Linked DNA regions of Homo sapiens: regions 1, 2, 3, 4, 5 and 6 are each linked to region 7. The links are contacts of gene promoters, found by promoter capture Hi-C in blood cells and fetal thymus (Javierre and others, 2016). All regions are on one chromosome and are shown on one strand. Each heading gives the region's core, a stretch centred on a gene start or on the middle of the fragment in contact. The rest is flanking DNA. Distances are from core to core; before and after follow the strand shown. Region 1 overlaps DCTN6 (dynactin subunit 6). Region 2 has its middle 4.2 kb from the start of DCTN6. Region 3 holds the start of LEPROTL1 (leptin receptor overlapping transcript like 1). Region 4 overlaps SARAF (store-operated calcium entry associated regulatory factor). Region 5 has its middle 34 kb from the start of DCTN6-DT. Region 6 has its middle 28 kb from the start of SARAF. Region 7 holds the start of DUSP4 (dual specificity phosphatase 4).

What was found. The method cuts DNA at HindIII sites, captures the fragments that hold promoters and counts their contacts. A CHiCAGO score of 5 or more calls a contact.
Region 1: a contact is called between a fragment that was not itself captured here and the fragment with the promoter of DUSP4 in region 7, in 2 of 17 cell types (naive CD4 T cells and total CD4 T cells). The highest score is 7.4, in naive CD4 T cells.
Region 2: a fragment that was not itself captured here is called in contact with the fragment with the promoter of DUSP4 in region 7 in 3 of 17 cell types (M2 macrophages, M0 macrophages and total B cells); the score reaches 6.1 in M2 macrophages.
Region 3: a contact is called between the fragment with the promoter of LEPROTL1 here and the fragment with the promoter of DUSP4 in region 7, in 1 of 17 cell types (non-activated CD4 T cells). The highest score is 5.1, in non-activated CD4 T cells.
Region 4: a fragment that was not itself captured here is called in contact with the fragment with the promoter of DUSP4 in region 7 in 6 of 17 cell types (M2 macrophages, endothelial precursors, fetal thymus and 3 more); the score reaches 8.3 in M2 macrophages.
Region 5: a contact is called between a fragment that was not itself captured here and the fragment with the promoter of DUSP4 in region 7, in 1 of 17 cell types (total CD4 T cells). The highest score is 5.3, in total CD4 T cells.
Region 6: a fragment that was not itself captured here is called in contact with the fragment with the promoter of DUSP4 in region 7 in 17 of 17 cell types (M2 macrophages, total CD4 T cells, naive CD4 T cells and 14 more); the score reaches 22.4 in M2 macrophages.

The regions. Positions count from the first base shown.
Region 1 is chr8:30,168,426-30,171,149 of GRCh38, forward strand. The region is part of intron 2 of DCTN6 (dynactin subunit 6); the gene reads left to right. Among named protein-coding and RNA genes, the nearest start is that of DCTN6-DT, 13 kb to the left of the region's middle. The HindIII fragment of the contact is 6,372 bases long and covers 1-2,724 here.
Region 2 is chr8:30,150,779-30,153,478 of GRCh38, forward strand. No RefSeq gene overlaps it. Among named protein-coding and RNA genes, the nearest start is that of DCTN6, 4.2 kb to the right of the region's middle. The HindIII fragment of the contact is 3,005 bases long and covers 1-2,700 here.
Region 3 is chr8:30,094,022-30,096,721 of GRCh38, forward strand. LEPROTL1 (leptin receptor overlapping transcript like 1) reads left to right here and starts at 1,387. Exons shown (of 4, transcript NM_015344.3): 1 at 1,387-1,507. The coding sequence starts at 1,492. RefSeq lists a silencer at 1,235-1,694. The HindIII fragment of the contact is 3,733 bases long and covers 1-2,700 here.
Region 4 is chr8:30,072,447-30,075,282 of GRCh38, forward strand. It overlaps SARAF (store-operated calcium entry associated regulatory factor), which reads right to left. Exons shown (of 6, transcript NM_016127.6): 2 at 1,431-1,609. Among named protein-coding and RNA genes, the nearest start is that of SARAF, 9.2 kb to the right of the region's middle. The HindIII fragment of the contact is 3,292 bases long and covers 1-2,836 here.
Region 5 is chr8:30,189,025-30,191,728 of GRCh38, forward strand. No RefSeq gene overlaps it. Among named protein-coding and RNA genes, the nearest start is that of DCTN6-DT, 34 kb to the left of the region's middle. The HindIII fragment of the contact is 3,441 bases long and covers 1-2,704 here.
Region 6 is chr8:30,053,503-30,056,202 of GRCh38, forward strand. No RefSeq gene overlaps it. Among named protein-coding and RNA genes, the nearest start is that of SARAF, 28 kb to the right of the region's middle. The HindIII fragment of the contact is 8,354 bases long and covers 1-2,700 here.
Region 7 is chr8:29,349,335-29,352,034 of GRCh38, forward strand. DUSP4 (dual specificity phosphatase 4) reads right to left here and starts at 1,350. Exons shown (of 4, transcript NM_001394.7): 1 at 512-1,350. The coding sequence starts at 944. LOC124901924 (a long non-coding RNA gene) reads left to right here and starts at 1,640. Exons shown (of 2, transcript XR_007060876.1): 1 at 1,640-2,200. RefSeq lists enhancers at 348-849, 378-527, 850-1,349, 2,048-2,117, 2,158-2,267 and silencers at 1,208-1,527, 1,718-1,857. The HindIII fragment of the contact is 21,736 bases long and covers 1-2,700 here.

The DNA.
Region 1 (2,724 bases), core at 109-2,608, 820 kb after region 7:
GGAGATAAGTCATCTGATTACAACTCTCCCCACCCTGCTTTATTTTTCATTTTAGGGCTTTTATTGTTGTTTTTACTTAGTTTATCTGAGTTAAGTAGCAATAAACTGTTGTTTAATTCATAGATTTTTTTCAGGATGTTTTGTGTAATTTTCCATCTTCTAGTCATGTATACTTTTACAAATTATTCCATTCTGAAATATTTCAGGAAGAAAGTAATGTTTTCCTTTGCTAAGTTTCAGGCTAATGGAACTTTAAACCCGATCTGTTTTCCTAGAAAAGCAGGTATTTGTTTTTTCAGAGAAACTAGCTGGATGCTTGGAAGTATGGTCCTTAACCAGAAACCCTATGACTTGAAGCTCTGCTGGAGCCTGACCCCCTTATTCAAGGCTGTTCAGAGACAGAGCTTGGGAAAAGTAACAGCCCTCTTGTTAATTATAATTTGGGTAAATAAGGTTTCATAGCATCAAGCCTATTTTTAGTTAGTCTGCCTTAATTCATGGCCCATGAATTATTTCCTGTAAATCTTTATTTTGAGAGCTGAAAACATTTCTGAAAGGTACCTTGAAGCACCGTCCCGTGGTCCATTACAGGGCGAGAGGCCGGGACAGAACTTGGTCAGGACATCAGTATGTGAAGGCGGAACTCGGCTCAGTGGAAATGTTTTGTGCTGGAAGCACTTTGTCCCACTTACTTAGTCTCTCTAGGAGAGTTTTAATACGGACCAAAAGCCTCCCTTTCATTGCGGCAGTCTTTTTCAGTAAGGCAGAACAGTGGCTTTGACTTGAGAAATTATCACCTATAAAGCACTCTTACAGGTACTTCAGCTTACAGTTCAAGAAAATTGTTTAGTTGTCAAAAAAACAGAGCTTAAGGCCTTTTGAATTATTTATTGACAAATGGAAATGTACACAAAGATTGCTTTCTGTGGCAAAGATAGACAGGAAAAGTGTCCTTTACCAGGGAAATGGAAATTGGATGCAAGGAATATCTTTCTGGCTATGTGGCACCAAGCCCAGCCAACCATTTAGAAAAATAATTCATCAGCCAGTAAGGCAGTTCCAACTCTAGACACATTTTTCCAAACAAGCAGATAAGCCAAATAGGGCTTCAGCACATTTAGTAAGAAAATACACAAACTACCCCGCCAGAAGGAGCGCCAGGGTTCACAGCAGGCTTTCAATGTTTTCCGTGGTGACAGATTTTTATTTTTAAAGCACTTTAACCTCAAGACCCTTAAACTTTATGTTGAATTCAGACCTGATCTAGGTGTAATAAAAGTGCTCATGGCATCAGAAAAGCATGAAGTGAACCGTGGCCACGTTTCAGTGTGCTGTTTCTTATGGTGCTTGAGTTGCTGGGCTCTGGGCTCTGTGCTGCCCAACCTCCATCAATAGACCACGCAGACAAAGCAGAATTATCCGCATCATTCACGGAAATCACAGCCTTCCTTTAAGAAGTTCACCAGGCCAGAGGCGGTGGCTCACGCCTTTAATCCTAGCACTTTGGGAGGCCGAGTCGAGCGGATTTCCTGAGCTCAAGAGTTTGAGACCAGCCTGGGCAACACGGTGAAACCCCGTCTCTCCTAAAATACAAAAAATTAGCTGGGCGTGGTGGTGGGCTCCTGTAGTCCCAGCTACTCGGGAGGCTGAGGCAGGAGAATTGCTTGAACCTGGGAGGCGGAGGTTGCAGTGAACTGAGATGGTGCCACTGCACTCCAGCCAGGACGACAGAGCGAGACTCTGTATCCAAAAAAAAAAAAAAAGTTCACCAAACCAAAATCTAGCGGTTATGTATCCTGAAGTACGCTTATGCTAACTACTTCAGTCTGTGCCCAAAAAAGACCCGCAAGAAGTTGAGAGAAGCTATTTGATGAGTTATTGCCCGTGACATTTGCTGTCACCTCACAATTTAAAGCTGATCATTTCTCAAACTTTTATTTCAGCCTCTTAACACTGGGACCTGTAGTTTGGCAATGCTGCCAGCAGGTGGAGGTGGTGTCTAAATCACTGGTCTCACCTAAATGCGGCGGTGCTTTCTCTCCCTCTCTGGACACAGCCCTCAGATTTCTAACCAGGCATTTTCCAGTTACTTGTTTAATAATTATTAATAATGATAAAGACAGTAATAACAATAATAAAATAAAATACCTGCTTAAAATAGCTCACATATTATTTTTTAAATATTGTGCAAGACATCTTATGGGACTTGGGGTTGTTTTAATTTTTTTTTTTTTGAGACAGAGTCTCACTTTGTCACCCAGGCTGGAGTGCAGTGGCGCAGTCTCGGCTCACTGCAACCTCTGCCTCCCGGGTTCAGGTGACCCTCCTGCCTCAGCCTCCCAATAGCTGGGATTACAGATGCCCGCCATAATGCCCGGCTAATTTTTGTGTTTTAGTAGAGATGGGGTTTCGCCATGTTGCCCGGTCTCGAACTCCTGTGCTCAAGTGATCCACCTGCCTCGGTCTCCCAAAGTGCTGGGATTACAGATGTGAGCTACCACACCTGGCCTATTTTAATTTTTAAAAATGTGTGCTTCTGGTATCTTCTGTGAAAAAAATTTTTAAAAATTTTTAAAAAGTGTGCTTATTTGTTTGAGTTCTTTATATAAGAAATTTGTATTACTTAGTCATTTTTGAAAGGGAAAAATGAAACTGTCACTTGTTTTCATAAGTTTTAAAGAAACACACAGGTCCCAGGGGTATCCTTGTCTTGTCAAGAACTAC
Region 2 (2,700 bases), core at 104-2,603, 800 kb after region 7:
ACTGATTAATAGCTTGTTTAAAATTCTTTGAGTAATTTAAAAGGAAAAGGCTCAAATGTAGCTGTAATAGTTCCCTGTTGATCAGGTGGGTGTATTCTAACAGGGAACTGCCAAGCCTCTATATCACCCTCTCGTCTAGCTTGCTGAATTCCTGCCTGAATAGAACTGAGAGTGGTCGCTGGAGGCGCTGCTCGAACAGTCACTGGGGCAACTACTTTTCACTCAGTGTCCTCCAGAAAAGAAAGATCTGGAGGGTGAGGCCACTCTTTTTCTTCAAAATAATAATGAGGGGGTGCAGAAGGGTAGGGATGAACCTCTCCCTCCTTTGCCACTTTAGCTTTAGCTGGCAAATAAACCTCCTCTGTAACCTCTTCTGTTATCTCGTTATACTCTCCTTCCTCATCATCAGTGTGAAAAGGTTCCAAAGTGGAACGAACCAGAGCCCACACTTGTCCCATTGTTACCCTGATGCTTCTGAGCTCCCCTTCTTACCCACCACGGGGATTGCTTTAAGAGTACTTGGGTGTCCTCCAGCTTAGCTCCACATTCTCCAACCATTGCTCTGATGACTCTTCGACCTGGGTTTGAGCCCCCACGTATGGGCGCCACTTGCCAAGACCAGCTCGGTCCTGGAGACCCTAACCCAGCGGCACTAGAGGAATTAAAGACAGACACATAGAAATATAGAGTGCGGAGTGGGAAATCAGGGGTCTCACAGCCTTCAGAGCTGAGAGCCTCGAACAGAGATTTATCCACATATTTACTGACAGCAAGCCAGTGATAAGCATTGTTTCTATAGATTAACTAAAGATATTCCTTACGGGAAATAAAGGGATGGGCTGAAATAAAGGAATGGGTTTGGCTAGTTATCTGCAGCAGGAGCATGTCCTTAAGGCACAGATCGCTCATGCTATTGTTTGTGGTTTAAGAACACCTTTAAGGGGTTTTCTGCTCTGGGTGGGCCAGGTGTTCCTTGCCCTCATTCTGGTAAACCCACAATCTTCCAGCGTGGGCGTCATGGCCATCACGAACATGTCACAGTGTTGCAGATATTTTGTTTATGGCCAGTTTTGGGGCCAGTTTATGACCAGATTTTGGGGGCCTATTCCCAACAGGGAAGAAGAGGGCTCCCTAAGGAACTAAATAAGATAACATCATATTAAACATATTGAATGAAACCAAATCCCACATCAAATATAATTTCTAGGTATAGAAGAGTTGAATTGCAGTTGATTAGTTAAGAAAAAAGTTGCTTTGTAGACATTGAATTAAGTATGTACGTGTGGGTTTGGACACAGTGACTCATGCCTGTAATCCCAGCACTTTGGGAGGCAGAGGCAGGTGGATCACCTGAGGTCAAGAGTTCAAGACCAGCCTGGCCAACATGGTGAAACTCTGTCTCTAATAAAAATCCAAAAAAAAAAAAAAAAAAAAAAAAAAAAAAGGCCAGGCATGGTGGCAGGTGCCTATAATTCCAGCTACTCAGAAGGCTGAGGCAGGAGAATCACCTGAATCCAGGAGGTGGAGGTTGCAGTGAGCCGAGATCACGCCATTGCACTCCAGCCTGGGCAACAAGAGTGAAACTCCATCTCAAAAAAAAAAAAAAAGTATGTGTGCATTTATTTATTTTATTATCGAGACAGGCTCTTGCTCTGTTGCCCAGGCTGGAGTGCACTGGCATGATCTTGGCTCATTGCAACTTTGACCTCCCGGACTCAAGTGATCCTCCCACCTCAGGCCCCAAGTAGCTGGGGCTACAGGCACGTGCCACCATGCCTCGCTAATTTTTGTATTTTTTGTAGAGACAGAGTTTTGCCATGTTGCCCAGGCTAGTCTCGAACTCCTAACTCAAACAATCCACCTGCCTCAGCTTCCCAAAGAACTGGGGTTACAGGCGTGAGCCACTGTGCCTGGCCTTAGCATTAATTAATTCCTACCTGTACGGTTTACATTCTGGAATCAGTACATTTTATTTTCAGGTTTCAAACAGTTCGTTGATCCCCAAAAAGCCTATAGGCCCTAGACACTGTACCTAATACTGATAAAATGATCCTTTATAAGTATGCCATAGAAGTCTTTCAAATTAATATAAATACACATTGCTTGAAAATGGATAGGTGTTTACATGGTTGGCAGTGACAAAACACTCTAAATTCATTCATATACTTATTCAACAAGTTTAGAGGAATATCAACCATGCACCAGGCACTGTGGTTGGTGCTGAGTAAAGAGTGGGAACAAAACTCACATGGCTCTAACTTCATGGAACTTAAGTCTTTGGAGGAAATGGTAAGATAAGTAAGTATAGCTGGTGATGAGTGCAATCCTTACCCCACAGAGAAAATAATTAGAATAGGAAGGGTAGCCTATTTTTGATTAGATGGTGCTATGGTCTGAATGTTTTTGTCCCTCCAGAATTCATATGTTGAAATAATACCTTCAAGGTTCTGTCCTCTCTGCCGAGCCTCACATCTGATATTTTATTGACTACTTGGCAATTAAGAGGTGGGACATTTGGGAGGTGATTAGGTGATGAGGGCTCTCATCAGACACAGAATGTCCAGCGCTTTGATCTTGGACTCCCCAGCCTCTAGGACTGTGAGCAATAAATGTCTTTGTTTATAAATAACAGTAGTCGCACTTATCCATGGTTTCATCTTCTGTGGTTTCAGTAACCTGTAGTCAACATCAGTCCAAAAA
Region 3 (2,700 bases), core at 137-2,636, 740 kb after region 7:
GGGCTTTCACTTTTTTTTCCTTGCCTTGTTACTACCAAAAAGACAGCCACCCAAGGGACTGGATTTCTATTAAATCCACCCTTTACTGAGCCCTGCTGCTCCTATCTCTGGAGGTGGGTCCTCACCAGAACCCTAGTCCTGTATAGGAAACCAAGGAGCCAAGTGCAGACCACCCAACTAACCTTAATTATAGGACTGGGGATGGAGGGATGGAGGGAGAGAGGAAAAGGCGCAGTAAAATAATGTGCGCAGTGGCTCACACCTGTTGTCGTAACCGAGCGAGTTATAGAGAAACACCACACTTTGAGACTAATTCAGGAGTCCTTTATTGCCGGCGACCGAGAGACGACTACAGCTCAAAATTCTCTCGGCCCTGAAGAAGGGGCTAGATTTCTTTTTATACCTTGGTCTAAATAGGGAAGGGGTAGTCTAGCTGAAGCAATTTTTACAGAAGCAGAACAGGCAAAGAGTTAAAAGATAAATGGTTATAGAAACAGTTACAGGAAAATAAACAGTTCCAGGTGCATGGGGCTTAAATTATCACAAAGAGATAAACGCAGGGGCTTTGGGTACCATCAACCGAGCGCGTTCCCAGGAGCTGCTGGTACAGCTTGCCTCAGTATCTTATCAGTAAGCACATTCCTGGATGTGCTTGGTGTCAGTCTGCACCAGTTATGTCCTTAAGGGAGGGGGACAAGGTGCTGCAAGCGAAGAAACCAAAATGGAGTCTGTCCCGCTCTCTCAGCTAAGAGCGAGTCAATCAGGTTAAAACAAGGTAGGGTATCAAGCTGTAATCCCAGCGCTTTGGGAGGCCGAGGAGGGCAGATCCTTGAGCTCAGGAGACCAGCTTGGGCAACAAGATGAGAGTCTCACACCCCGCCCTGTCTCTACAAAAAACAAAACAAAACAAAACAAAAAAAAGCCAGGCATGGTGGCTCATGTCTGTGGTCCCAGTTACTGCGAGGCCGACGTGAGAGAATCACTTGAGCCCTGGAGATCGAGGCTGCAGTAGCCGTGATCACACTCCAGCCTGGGCGAAAGAGACCCTGTCTCAAAAAACAAACAAAACAATGTGAAATTAAGCCAAAAGCCATCACACGTGCATCCAAAGGACGGCCGCTACCCGCGACCCCTTCCCAACGCACGCGGGAGGTTGCGGGATCAGGGACAGGGGCTTCAGCAGGGAGCCCCCAGACCGGCCCTGACAGGAATTCAAGACCTGGCGCCTGCTCATTCCCCCAGTCGGGGCGGCGGCGGCAAGCCTCGGCCGGCGGCGATCTGCACACCCGCGGAGAAGAGAGGCAGGGGGTCGACCCCACAGCCCAGCCCGGCGCGTCCCCCGCGCCCCCGCGCGAGCCCGAGTCGCCGGCGGAAGTGCTGCGTCGCGCACTTCCGGGTGTTGTCTGGCCGCCGTAGCGCGTCTTGGGTCTCCCGGCTGCCGCTGCTGCCGCCGCCGCCTCGGGTCGTGGAGCCAGGAGCGACGTCACCGCCATGGCAGGCATCAAAGGTGGGCCTGGGTTGCAGGACGCGGGAGGGCTGGGGCCGGCGGGGGAAGATGGGCCGGGGGTCCCACGCGGCCCCCGCACTTCCCCTCCGGGCTCGCGCGCGCGCGTGGGGTCCCTGCGCCGGGGAAGCGACCCCCGCCCCGGCCCTGCGCTTGGCCCGGAGGTGGGCGCGGCGCCCTCGGGCAACGGACGGTTGCGACCCCGGCTTCGCCCCGCAGCCCCCACTTTCTGCCGATTTCGGCAGCCTCTCTCCCACCCATCGCCCCCCGGACAAAATATGAAGTGGTTGGCGGTCAGTGAGGAGTCCCGTCGCGACTTGGACGGCCACACACGTTTTGCAGGAGTTTGCATCCGAGAGAGAGGCAGGCAGAGCGTGGGATTGAGAAGGCTGAGGCTGCTAGAGATGCCAGCTATGGAAAACCAGTCATTTCCCACCGAAAGGCACAAGTGCGGTCTGCGGGCGCTGCACGGGTCTGCCCGAAACCTCGACCCCACGTCCACCCCGGCCGCCCGCGCCCGAGGCTTTACAGGCTCCCGAAACGGGTGCATTTTCATCTGCGGTGTCTGGACCCTAGAGTTGATCCTGTAGGCGACCCCAAAGTGCTCCTGGCTCTCTTCCCTCTCCGCAGTTGCACCCTGAGGCTTTTTCAAATTTCAAAATTTTTCTTTTTTTCCTTTTTTTTTTTTAAGAAGATAAAATACTGGTACAACTTAATGAAAAACTACTGGCTTATTCATGTATTTTCTTTTAAAAAAAGGAATGTTGCATTTGTTCCACCTGTTAGGTAGTTTTGTTGTCAGTGTGATGAGAAGCAAAGTTTTCAGCTACTGCTTAACTAATTACATTGATTTCTTGACCTGCCGCTCTGTAGAAGGGCAGTCAGGCAGGAAGCAGGTAACTTTGGGAGCAGTGGTTTTCTTTGTATTTTTTCTTCTCTAAGGAAAACTTAATCGAGTTTTTTTTCAGGGTCACAGTCTTACTGTTTCTTGTTTATTTTCAATGTCTGAAAACATTTCATTTCCCATATAAAACCTTGTCATTTAAGCAACTGGGATACTTTGTAATCTCCTTTTGAACTATGATAGACTCTAAACCCTTATGTGAAAGGCAGTTATTGTGAATTGCTGTGGTTTTTAGGATGTTGCCCGTTTCCCTGTTCTTCCCTGTTTCTTCAGTGTCAATAATGCGGGGGTC
Region 4 (2,836 bases), core at 311-2,810, 720 kb after region 7:
GTTTTTCTTTTGTTGCTGTTACTACACTGTTTTTAAAATAATTTTATTTGGAGGAAGATTCATAGGTTTGTTGACTTAGGTAAATAAAACAAGCTAAACTTGTATTGGTATTTCATGTTAACTACCACTTCCTTAATCATGCGTACTTACAAGTAGCTTCTAAGTACTGTATTTAAATTTCAACTCTTGGAATAGAAGGAGTTTCTGTCCTGCTACTAAATGGCCTCTCTCCTGCTACTAAACATAAGCCAATGTATGATATGCTCAACACTCCTTTGCTCATGCTATTCCCTTCTCTAGCCTTTCCTCTCTAAAAATGTTATCATTCCTTCCTAACACAGCACAAATGTCTCATCCTTTAAGTCCCAATGGCTCCAACCAGACGTGACTTTATAATGTTGTGTTGGGACCTACATGTAATCTGAGTGCCTGTCTTACCTCTTCTACTAGTAAGACAGTTTCTTCATTCTACCTTATTCATTTTTGTATATTGCAATTAATACATGCTTAATGAATGACATCACCATTACTGCCTTTTTTTCCCATCAAGACTCTAAAAGTCATAAGTAAAGTGGAGTGAGACTTCTGCTATAACCCAGAGAATTCTATGATTCAACTTAGCAGTACTGGGGGAAAATATTGTGAAGTAAGTATCACCCAGTACACATCAACTTCCTCTCTGAATTGCAAAGACCACGCATAAAGGTTGTATCAAACAAGAATATCATTCTGATGGAGAGGGGAAATCGTCAACATAAGTTTCTTGCCTTGTGACCAGTCGTCTTAAATCAATTTTGAAAGCAGTCAGAATACAAAGTAGAAATATGTAACTAGTGATTTAAACTGAATTCATTTAATAAAATCTATCTCTAAAGCATATTCAGTTTTGGAACTTCAAGGAGATGCTCTGCTCGTATACAAAACACCAGCGTCCCAAAGGCAATCAATGAAACCTGCCGAAATGCTTCCTTTCAAAAGTAACCACCCTCAGTTCTAAGACAATTTTAAAATCAAGTGCTAGAAGCACAATAGAGATATATGAACCCCTACTATTTACGATCTATAATTCCTAATTATCTTAACTTTGTCTTAAGGGTAGGTTGGTATTCTTTGAGGAACGACAGGAAAATGACAACCATAAGATATCCCCTATCCCTCACCCTCAAGTATATAAAAAGTTGTGAAAATTTACAAATATCTTAGAAGGAGGTCACGATACAAAAACTAAAATGAGTATTTTCAGGCTTTAAAATCAGTTCATTTCTTTTGGAGGCCATTTCTTCCACAGGAAGAGTGATTGATTTACTTACATATTTTAGGCTGATCTGAGATTTCCGTAGGTGCACCCTCAAAAGACTGAATAATGTCCCAATAAACAATTTACTGAATAAAAACCCCATTTAGACTGCCATTACTGTAGTGGATATTACCTGTACATCATACCCATCCCAGCCTTTGTTCTGACACTGTATGACTTTTGGGGTATAAGAATCACAACCAGCTGTGCCTCCAACACATTTCAACTGTGGGATGGGATCCAGCCTGCGGGAGGTGGTATAGCGGTCATAGTGGAGGGTAAGAGCTTTTACATCCCGCAGCAACATTCTGTCTGAAACAGCAAGAAAACAGAGGAACACAAAGTAAGTATCGTGTCAGAGAAAGAAAGGTTCATCCTAACGAAACTCTCGTCATAGGAAATGCCTTTCTTGCCTTCTGAGGATGGCTAAGAGAGGATGAATCTATTTCTCAAAACTATCCCAACAACATTCAGGCCTTCTGAACAAAATTCAGGTCACACTTTTAAGATCTCCCTGCATTTCAGGCCAGATGCTTCTACAGCACAAGTTGTACATCATTTTTGCTAAATCAAAAGAACAAAAAGTTCATTAACCTGAAACATTGTACTACTGTGTAATAATAATAGTGGTTAATTAAAATGGCAAGAATATAAGCATGTTCCTGAAGCACATTTAATGCTTTAAATGTCCATCAACAGGTGAAGAAATTAACACATTCTGACCTATTACAGTGGAATATTACATAGCAGTTAAAATGAGTGAACTAGAATTCATGTATCAAACTAGATAGATGGCAAAAACATTTTAAACAAAATACAAGTTGCAGAATGTTTTGTATGACAGCTTTACATAAACCTTTAAAAAAGGCAAAACAGTACTACATACTGTTAATGTCTATATATGTATATAATAACAACATGAAAACATGTATGGGAAGGATTTAACACCAAATTCAAATAAGTATCTAGTCTAGGGAGAGAGAAAGAAAAGAGATTTTAGCTCTATTCCTAATGTTTTATTACTGGGAGTGGGGGATTTGTAGCAAATATGGCAAAATATAAAGATTCAATAAAACTGGGTGATGACTATGTGTAGGTTCATTGTACACTTCTGTATGTTTAAATACTTTAGGTATTTCATAATTTTAAAAATCAAAACTATTTAAACTATTTCACAAACTAAAAAATTTAAAACATACTGACAAGAGACTTTGAAAGGAGGAGTCAAAACAATAAAATTATGTCTGGCATTCATGTGCAAAAATGAAATTTTTAGGTTGGGTGTGGTGGCTCACACCTGTAATCCCAGCACTTTGGGAGGCCGAGGCACGTGGATCACCTGAGCTCAGGAGTTCGAGACCAGCCTAGCCAACACGGCGAAACCCCATCTCTACTAAATATACAAAATTAGCCGGGAGTGGTGGCACATGCCTGTAATCCCAGCTACTTGGGAGGGTGAGGCAGGAGAATCGCTTGAACCTGGGAGGAGGAGGTTGCAGTGAGCCAAGATCACACCATTGCACTCCAGCCTAGGCAACA
Region 5 (2,704 bases), core at 52-2,551, 840 kb after region 7:
GACTTTAATACTTTATTAAACAAAACTAGGAGCAGTTCCTTTCTTGTCTCCTTTAAAGGGTGTTGTATTTAAATATTTTAGAACATTTAGCTGGGACTAGGTTCATGACACTAAACACATGCAAATGGAGGCTCAGGCTTTGAGAAGAGAATCATTGTCAGGCCCACTAGAGACCCAGCCAAGAATGGATTGATTGCCCAAGCCTTCATTGTCAGCATCCCTCTCCACAGGGTTTCAGCATTGCTCACCTTCATGAAAGTTTGGTGCTAAGTCCCTGAATTTAGACTTTCTTTTTTCCTTTTTAAAATTTTCAGTGACAGGGACTCACCATGTTGACCAGGCTGCTCTTGAACTCCTGGACTCAAGCCACCCTCCTGCCTCAGCCTCCCAGCGTGCTGGGATTACAGGCATGAGCCACCATGGCCTGCCTAGATTTTCCATTTCTTAAACTAACTCAGCTTTCATTAGCTACCTATATGGTTCAGACTTTTGAGCCAGTCTCTGCTCTCGGTGAAAAATAATGCCGGATGTTCAGAACCCAAATTTCCCCTACTATGAAGTCGTCTGCTCCTTGGTAGGCTAATCACTGCTCTCTCTGAGTTGTATGCTTTCCAAAAATCAGTTGTATTTGGCCGGGCATGGTGGCTCATGCCTGTTATCCCAGCACTTTGGGAGGCTGAGGTGGGCAGATCACTTGAGGACAGTCCAAGACCAGCCTGCCAACATGATGAAACCCCATCTCCACTAAAAATACAAAAGTTAGCTGGGCATGGTAGTGGGCCCCTGTAATCCCAGCTACTCAGGAGGCTGAGGCAGGAGAATTCTTTGAGCCTAGGAGGCGGGGGCTGCAGTAAGCCAAGACTGTGCTGCTGCACTCCTGCCTGGGCAACAGAGCAAGACTCCATCTCAAAAAAAAAAAAAAAAATCAGTTGTATTTGTTCCAAAACTTGTTTTTGCAAGTTGTACTTAATAACGATGTAATTTAATTCAATATTACCAAAATCAAACAATTATGAGTGTGAAGAGAGTAATCTCTATGAAAAAAAGTTGAAAACTTGGGAAAGACCTGATAAAAGACGTGTTATTAAAGAAAAAAATGCTGTGGAATTAGGTGTGGGTAAAGCAACCGTGAATGTTTGGGAGGGAGAGAAAAGTGTCAAAATATAGGACTTTGCCTTCATTTTGTTTCACAAGTGTCTTGAGTCCTCATTCTACTAAAGCTGAAATTGATAATGCTTCTTGCTGTGCTAATCAATGTCCTCTGTGCAGCCTGCATCAGCAGGCCCACACGCAAAGAAAAGGTCTTATCCTGACATCAAAGGAGTGATGGGTAGATAAACCTGTTTATATTTTAAATTAAAAATAAAATTTTGAAGATATATATAATAATTTTATGAAGCCCCATATAGCTGACTTTTTTCTTTAACCAACCAACTACAGATTCTGACTGCGTAGTTAGGATGGCCGGGTGCAGTAGCTCACACCTGTAATCCCAGCGCTTTGGGAGGCTGAGGTGGGTGGATTGCTTCAGCCCAGGAGTTTGAGACCAGCCAGACCTCATCTTTATTAAAAAAAGAAGAAGAAGAAGAAGAAGAAGAAGAATCAGAATTTCTGCAGTATAGTTCCAGGAGCTGCCAAACAGTGGTATAAGGAAATGAATTGCCTGGGCCTCAACATATCCTCAGTGTCAGTGACACATGTATACTTTCAAATGAATAACCTCTTTTTATGAAGATTATACTTTGGCATCCCTTATCTGTAGGCTAGCTGTGCTTGATTTTAGTAGAATAGATTTTTAGGACTTAATCATCATTAATGTATCTGTATTAGTCCGTTTTCACACTGCTGATGAAGACATACCGGAGAATGGGCAATTTACAAAAGAAAGAGGTTGACTGGACTTACAGTTCCACGTGGCTGGAAGGCCTCACAATCATGGCAGAAGGTGAAAGGCATATCTCACATGGTGGCAGACAAGAAAAGAGGGCTTGTGCAGGGAAACTCCCGTTTTTAAAACCATCGGATCTTGTGAGACTGAGACCAAGACCAACTCACTATCACAAGAACAGAACAGGAAAGAGTCACCCCCATGATTCAATCACCTCCCACCAGGTTTCTCCCACAACATGTGGGAATTGTGGGAGTTGCAATTCAAGATGAGATTTAGGTGGAGACACAGCCAAACCATATCAGTATCTACACTTGTTTGTTCAGAGAACAATTTCAAGTCTGTCAGCTTATCCTGCAACTGTGCCTAAAATATGTTCCTTTTTTACTTAAGGCTACCTGGCACTGCTGTAGATGTGTAATATATTTTGCTTAAATGCTTAGCATGAAAGGGAAGACTTCCACTTTTGGTTGCTGTAACCCGTGAACTTTCGCCATTATGTTCAGTAGACTTTGTAATCAGAAAAAAAAAAATGACCATATTGAATCCCAGATGGCATTCTTTTTTTTTTTTTCTTTTTTTAAGAAAGGGTCTCACTGTGTCACTCAGGCTGAAGTGCAGTGTCACTATCATGGCTCACTGCAGCTTTGACCTCCCAGGTTCACATGATCCTTCCACGTCAGCCTCCCAATTAGCTGGGACTACAGGCATGCACAACCATGTCCAGTTCATTTTTAAATTTTTTTTTGTAGAGACGAGATCTCCCTATGTTGCCCAGACTGATCTCGAACTCCTGGGCTCAAGCTATACTCCTGC
Region 6 (2,700 bases), core at 124-2,623, 700 kb after region 7:
TTTAATTAAATATAATTTAACTTGATAAATACTCATAATTTTGAATATTTTAATGTAAGGAAGAAATGTGTCTTTTCTCCTTTAATAAGGAAAGATTGTGCTGGGGATTTAAAAAACAAAAAACAACAACAACAAAAAAAAACATGATCAAACCTAGGTAGATGACCAGATGGTGGAGGATCCAAAAGCTAGGTAAAGTAAGAAATGATTGAGAGTGTTTTGGATTTTTAACTTGAATAAAAAATAGAGCTGTCTTCAAATATCTACAGTAAGGGAATTCCACTTTTATGTTTGTGAGGGCAAGATGATTTGAACCAATCCTATCACACACGGAAACTAACAAAACTGAGCAAAATATGAAAAGACATCTTCCCGAAGGCATCACAGAGCTAGCAAAATCATGAAGATTTACTATTTCTGGATCCAGGGAAGACAGGAACTCCTATAAATTATGTGGGCATTATTCCCATCCTGCCCTTCATCCACTAGAAAATGATTTACTTAGAAACAATGTGAAACATTGTGATACACAATAAGGCATTCTGTAAATCTACATATCATGGTTTCAACAACAGCCTTTCGAGTGGGAAGGGCCAATCCAAACCCAGAGTAAATGTCTACTTCAGTGACAACAAATCATTGCCCCTTTCATGATAGAAGTGGTCTCATGTAATCAACATGCCACCAGATGGTGGGCTGATTTCCCCAGGGAATTGAACCGTATTCAGGGTTCAGTGTTGGCCTCTGCCGTTGGGAGATAGGGCACTCAGCAGCGGTTGTAACCTGATCGGTTTTGGTGAATGGAAGACCCTTTTGCTGAATCGATGGATAACTTTCATCCCTACCACCTTAGCCACTTTGTTTATGAGCCAATGAAACAGGAGTAGGGCTTGCTGAAAAAAAGAGGCTGAATAATAGCCACAGAAAATGTCATCTTATGAAGTGACTTAAGATGCAACGTTCTGTCGGGGACATGAACTACTTACTGATCCTAATACTCTGAGTGGATGGTTTCCTGAGGGATGATGGCTTCCTGCTTGGATGTGATGATGCCTATAGTAAGCAAGGTGGAGATGCCAGAATTTCTGTGATATTCTACTACTCAGGTAGTTGTAAGCATGTATATTGGACAAAAAAAAAAAATCTCATCTTTGTTAAGAGAGGACCATACATCTACATTTCCCCCAGATATCCTTATCAATTTTTCTTTCTTTTTTTTTTTTTTTTTGGAGACAGAGTCTCGTTCTGTCACCCAGGCTGGAGTGCAGTGGCACGATCTCATCTCACTGCAACCTCTGCCTCCTGGGTTCAAGTGATTCTTCTGCCTCAGCCTCTCGAGTAGCTGGGACTACAGGTGTGTGCCACCACGCCTGGCTAATTTTTTGTATTTTTAATAGAGACAGGGTTTCACTGTGTTAGCCAGGACGGTCTCGATCTCCTGACTTTGTGATTTGCCTGCCTCAGCCTCCCAAAGTGCTGGGATTACAGGCGTGAGCCACTGCGCCCAGCCTAATTTTTGTATTTTTAGTAGAGATGGGGTTTTACCATGTTGGCCAGGCTAGTCTCTAATGCCTGACCTCAGATGATTCGCCCACCTCGGCCTCCCAAAGTGCTGGGATTACAGGCATGAGCCAGCTTGCCCAGCTTTATCGTCAATTTTTCAGTCTCATTTTTCCAAGCCCCTGGTCACCCATTCAAACCAGAAACCACTGTCTATTTTGAAAAGTGTAGATACATATGTCTTGCCATCTCTTATTTCAGATGCATAGCTCAAAATTCCACCCCCTCAGGGCACTTCCCTTCACTGTCCTTCCAGGTGGTATCAGCATATCATGCAGATCCATTTGTAAATCAGGCTACTCTTGACTTGCTGTCCTGTATGGAATTCCATCCACCTTGGTTGGCTCTGACAATGAAGAGATGCAATTTGCCACTTCGGAAACCCACTATCTCTGTTAATCTTGGGAAGTCCATTTTCATGACAGCATTTCCCACTATTAACCTTTGCCTACAGAGGACAACTATCATTGAGCCCTTAAAAATGCTAATAACTCTCTCACCAGTACCTTCCTTACTACCTTGGTAAAGGGAGATGCTCTGAACCCTCAGAGTAGAGTCAAATGTTGGATTATTCAGTCTCATAAGTAAATTCTAACATCCCACTTCCTTGAGTCTTCAGATACTGTGCTCAATACTATACCATAGAAAGTCTGGCATCTCTACCTCACTTACGGTAGGCATCATCACATCCAATCAGGAAACCATCATCATCCATCAAGAAACCATCCCAGAAAATTATTAGAACCAGTAGCTCATGTCTTTGACAGAACATTGAATCCCAATTCACAGGTGAACATAAAGGACTTCTCTTTCCACCATATTTCACCCCTCCCACAGCCCAACTTCCAGATGAATTTCCACATGGTTTATCCCTACTCTCGCTGGTACATATTAGCTGTATGGTACCATGATTTTTTTAGTATGTGACCTATTTCCTCCCAAGGCAAGTGCTATAATTCCAAGAGGTTATCATTCTTTTGCTGTGTGGCTTATTTCCTCCCAAAGCAGGGACTGTCTTTCCCTGTTAAGGTTGAGATCTGACTCTAGTTATTGGCCTGGAGGCAGAGATGTGGCAGGACTCAGTTTTAAGAAAAAATGCTATCTTACAAGGCATCTGCTTCAGGTGAGGCCGTTACATGG
Region 7 (2,700 bases), core at 100-2,599:
CCTTTCTGCATTTGCCAGGGTCTTGTTTTCAGTGAAACTGGCAAGGCCAATTGTACCTCGGCGCCCACCCCTCTTCACCTTTTCTCCACCTCTGGGATTCTCCCGGTCCGGCTCAGTGTAGGGCCCCAGCACGCCAAACCAACAGGCCTATCTTGTCCCCACGCGCCCCGTGGTACTTGGAAACTGTTCCCGGGACTCAAGATGGACCGCGCAGAGGAGTCGCTTCATCCTCGAGGCTAGGACCGTTAATGTCAATAAACGGGGCCTCGCTAGGACGGTGCGGAATTGCAGGTGACCGGAGAAACCCGTCCGCACTTTCCCTGAGGACTTGAACCTCGCACTTGCACAGAAACCTTGCAAACCCCTACACACCAACACACACAAAGGGGCGCGCGGGGATCCCCGCAACCACGAATCACGCCGGGGACTCCTTCCCGTGCCAATAAGGCGCAGGCCGCCAAGACCCCCTCCATCTCCCCGACTCCAGCTAGCGCCCGGAGCCCTCGTTTACCTTTGAGCAGGCAGATGTCGGTGCGCTCGGCGTTGCGGCGCAGCGCCTGCACCACCAGCGACACGGTGCTGTCCTCGCGGAGGCTCTCGGCGCGCGGGCTGCGCTCGTCGTAGACGATGACCGCCGAGTAGAGGCCGGAGCGCAAGCGGGCGCGTACCTCCTCCTCGGCGGGCAGGATCTGCTCCAGGCTCACGGAGCCCTTAGCCCGCCGCCGCACGATGGTGTTACAGCGCACGTTGACCGAACCTAGGATGTAGCCCGCGCTGTGCGCCAGGAACGGTCTGCAGTCCAGCAGCAGGCACTTGCCGCCGCTCGGCAGCCCCAGGGTGCCGTGGCTGCCGCTGCCGCCCGCGCCGCCGCCATTCTCGTCCCGGTTCATCAGCCTTTTGAGCACACTGCAGTCCATCTCCCGCAGCTCCTCCATCGTCACCATGGTCGCCGGGAACCGAGGCGGCTGGGCGCGCGAGGAAGAGAAGAGAACCCGGGCCGCCTAGGCTGCAGAAAGGGGCGGGCGAGAGCTAAGAAGGGACGCCTGCAGAAGTGGCCGCAAACTTGGTCCTCAAGGGCTCCCGCGGGAGAGCCTCTTCTTCCCTGTCCCCTTCCTCCCGCAGCCTCGCGGTCACATAGCAGTCGGAGCGGCCTCGGGCGCCCAGCCGGGCGGCGCGCAGAGCGGAGGGGGAGGCGCCGGTGGAGGAGAGTGTGTTTACGAGAGAGGACCGCGGACTCTTTTCGGCGACGGCCTCCCGTGTATTTTTGCCGGTCGCGCGGCTCCTGTCGCCACTGGCGCCAGCGCTGCCCTGCCTACGCTCCTCCGGCGCTCAGCGCACTGCCCCAGCCAGAGTTTTCTCCTCGGCTTAGAGGTTTATTAATGCTCCTCCGCGCTCCCGGGGGAGGGGGCGCTAGGTACTACCCCGCCAGGCCCCGCCCCGTTCCATTCCGGGCCCCGCGCCGTCCCCCGCCCCCCGCGCTGTCCCCCGCCCCCCGCGCTGACTCCCCGCCCCCTCCGGGCCCCTCCTCCCACCCCCTCCCCGGAGCTTGAATGGAGCGCGGCCGCTGGCTCCCGGTCACGGGAACTCGACGTCACAAAGAGCGGAGTAAACAGGGCGCCGGGTGCTCGCCATCAGGCCCATTCATAAAACCGAGGCCGAGAGGAAGAGGGAGGCGGCCTCCGACCCGCCGCCAGCGGCGGGCAGCGCCCGGACTTTGTGAATGGAGCGCGCGGCGCCTTTCGCCGTCTACCCGCGGGCCCAGCCTGCGCCGCGCCTCCAGCCCGACACCGGCACCTGTGCCGCCGCTGCACCCCGCCGCTAGGCGGGCGGCGCCAAAGGAAATAGCCGGCTGAGGAGGCCAGGGCTCGGGTTTGAGCTTTCATCCCTTGGCACCTTCGCGCTTCCCCGCGTGACAGCCCCGTAGGTTTTTCCCGGTTACCCAAGTGGAGAGGGGACCGGAGCGCTGCTGCCCACCCAGCGGGGCCTGACACCTCCTAGCCCCAGACTCCCCGTGCGCTTTCGGCCCGGCCAGTCCTTTCTGAATATGCGATTCCTGAGACGTTAGCGTATGCATTAGCGTGATCGATTTTCATCTAAAGCCATTAAATCAGTTTTATAGCTTCCCCAAGAACGTGGGCAACCCCCTGCTTGGAAGATGAAAGAGAAAGTCCTCCCGCCCGAAGCCCAGGATCGGAGTGAGGTGTGGGGTTTGTTGCTTTACTACCCAAAGGGAGGCATTAATTGCCGGAATGGTGTTCCGAGGGAGGAGAGCAGGCTGCGCTCCTGTCCACGCTTCCTAAAAGATGTTTATTTAACCCTGGTCGGGGGAAAAACAAGGTTTTCGGGTTTGGGAAACGTCTTCACCCTATCTTGCATAGTTGTGAATTATCCTTTCAGGAAATGACAGGGTCCACATTTGTTGCGGAGCTGGACCCTGGAAAATGTACCCGCAAAGAATGACCTTTTGAAAGGACTTCAGCAGCTCTGGGTCCGATTCATGTTTCTGGGCATCCCTTTTTCCTGGTCACGTAGCAGCCCTCCCCATCCCCATTTCTCTTTTGCATTTAATTTCCCAGAGGCGGCTTTTGGCTGGGGGTTTGTGCACGCACGCGGTGGGGACCGTGCAGAAGCCAAAAATCATTCGCCCGACATCTTGCCAAGTCTTGTTAGTGAGAATTAATCACAGAGCAAGGGAGTTAC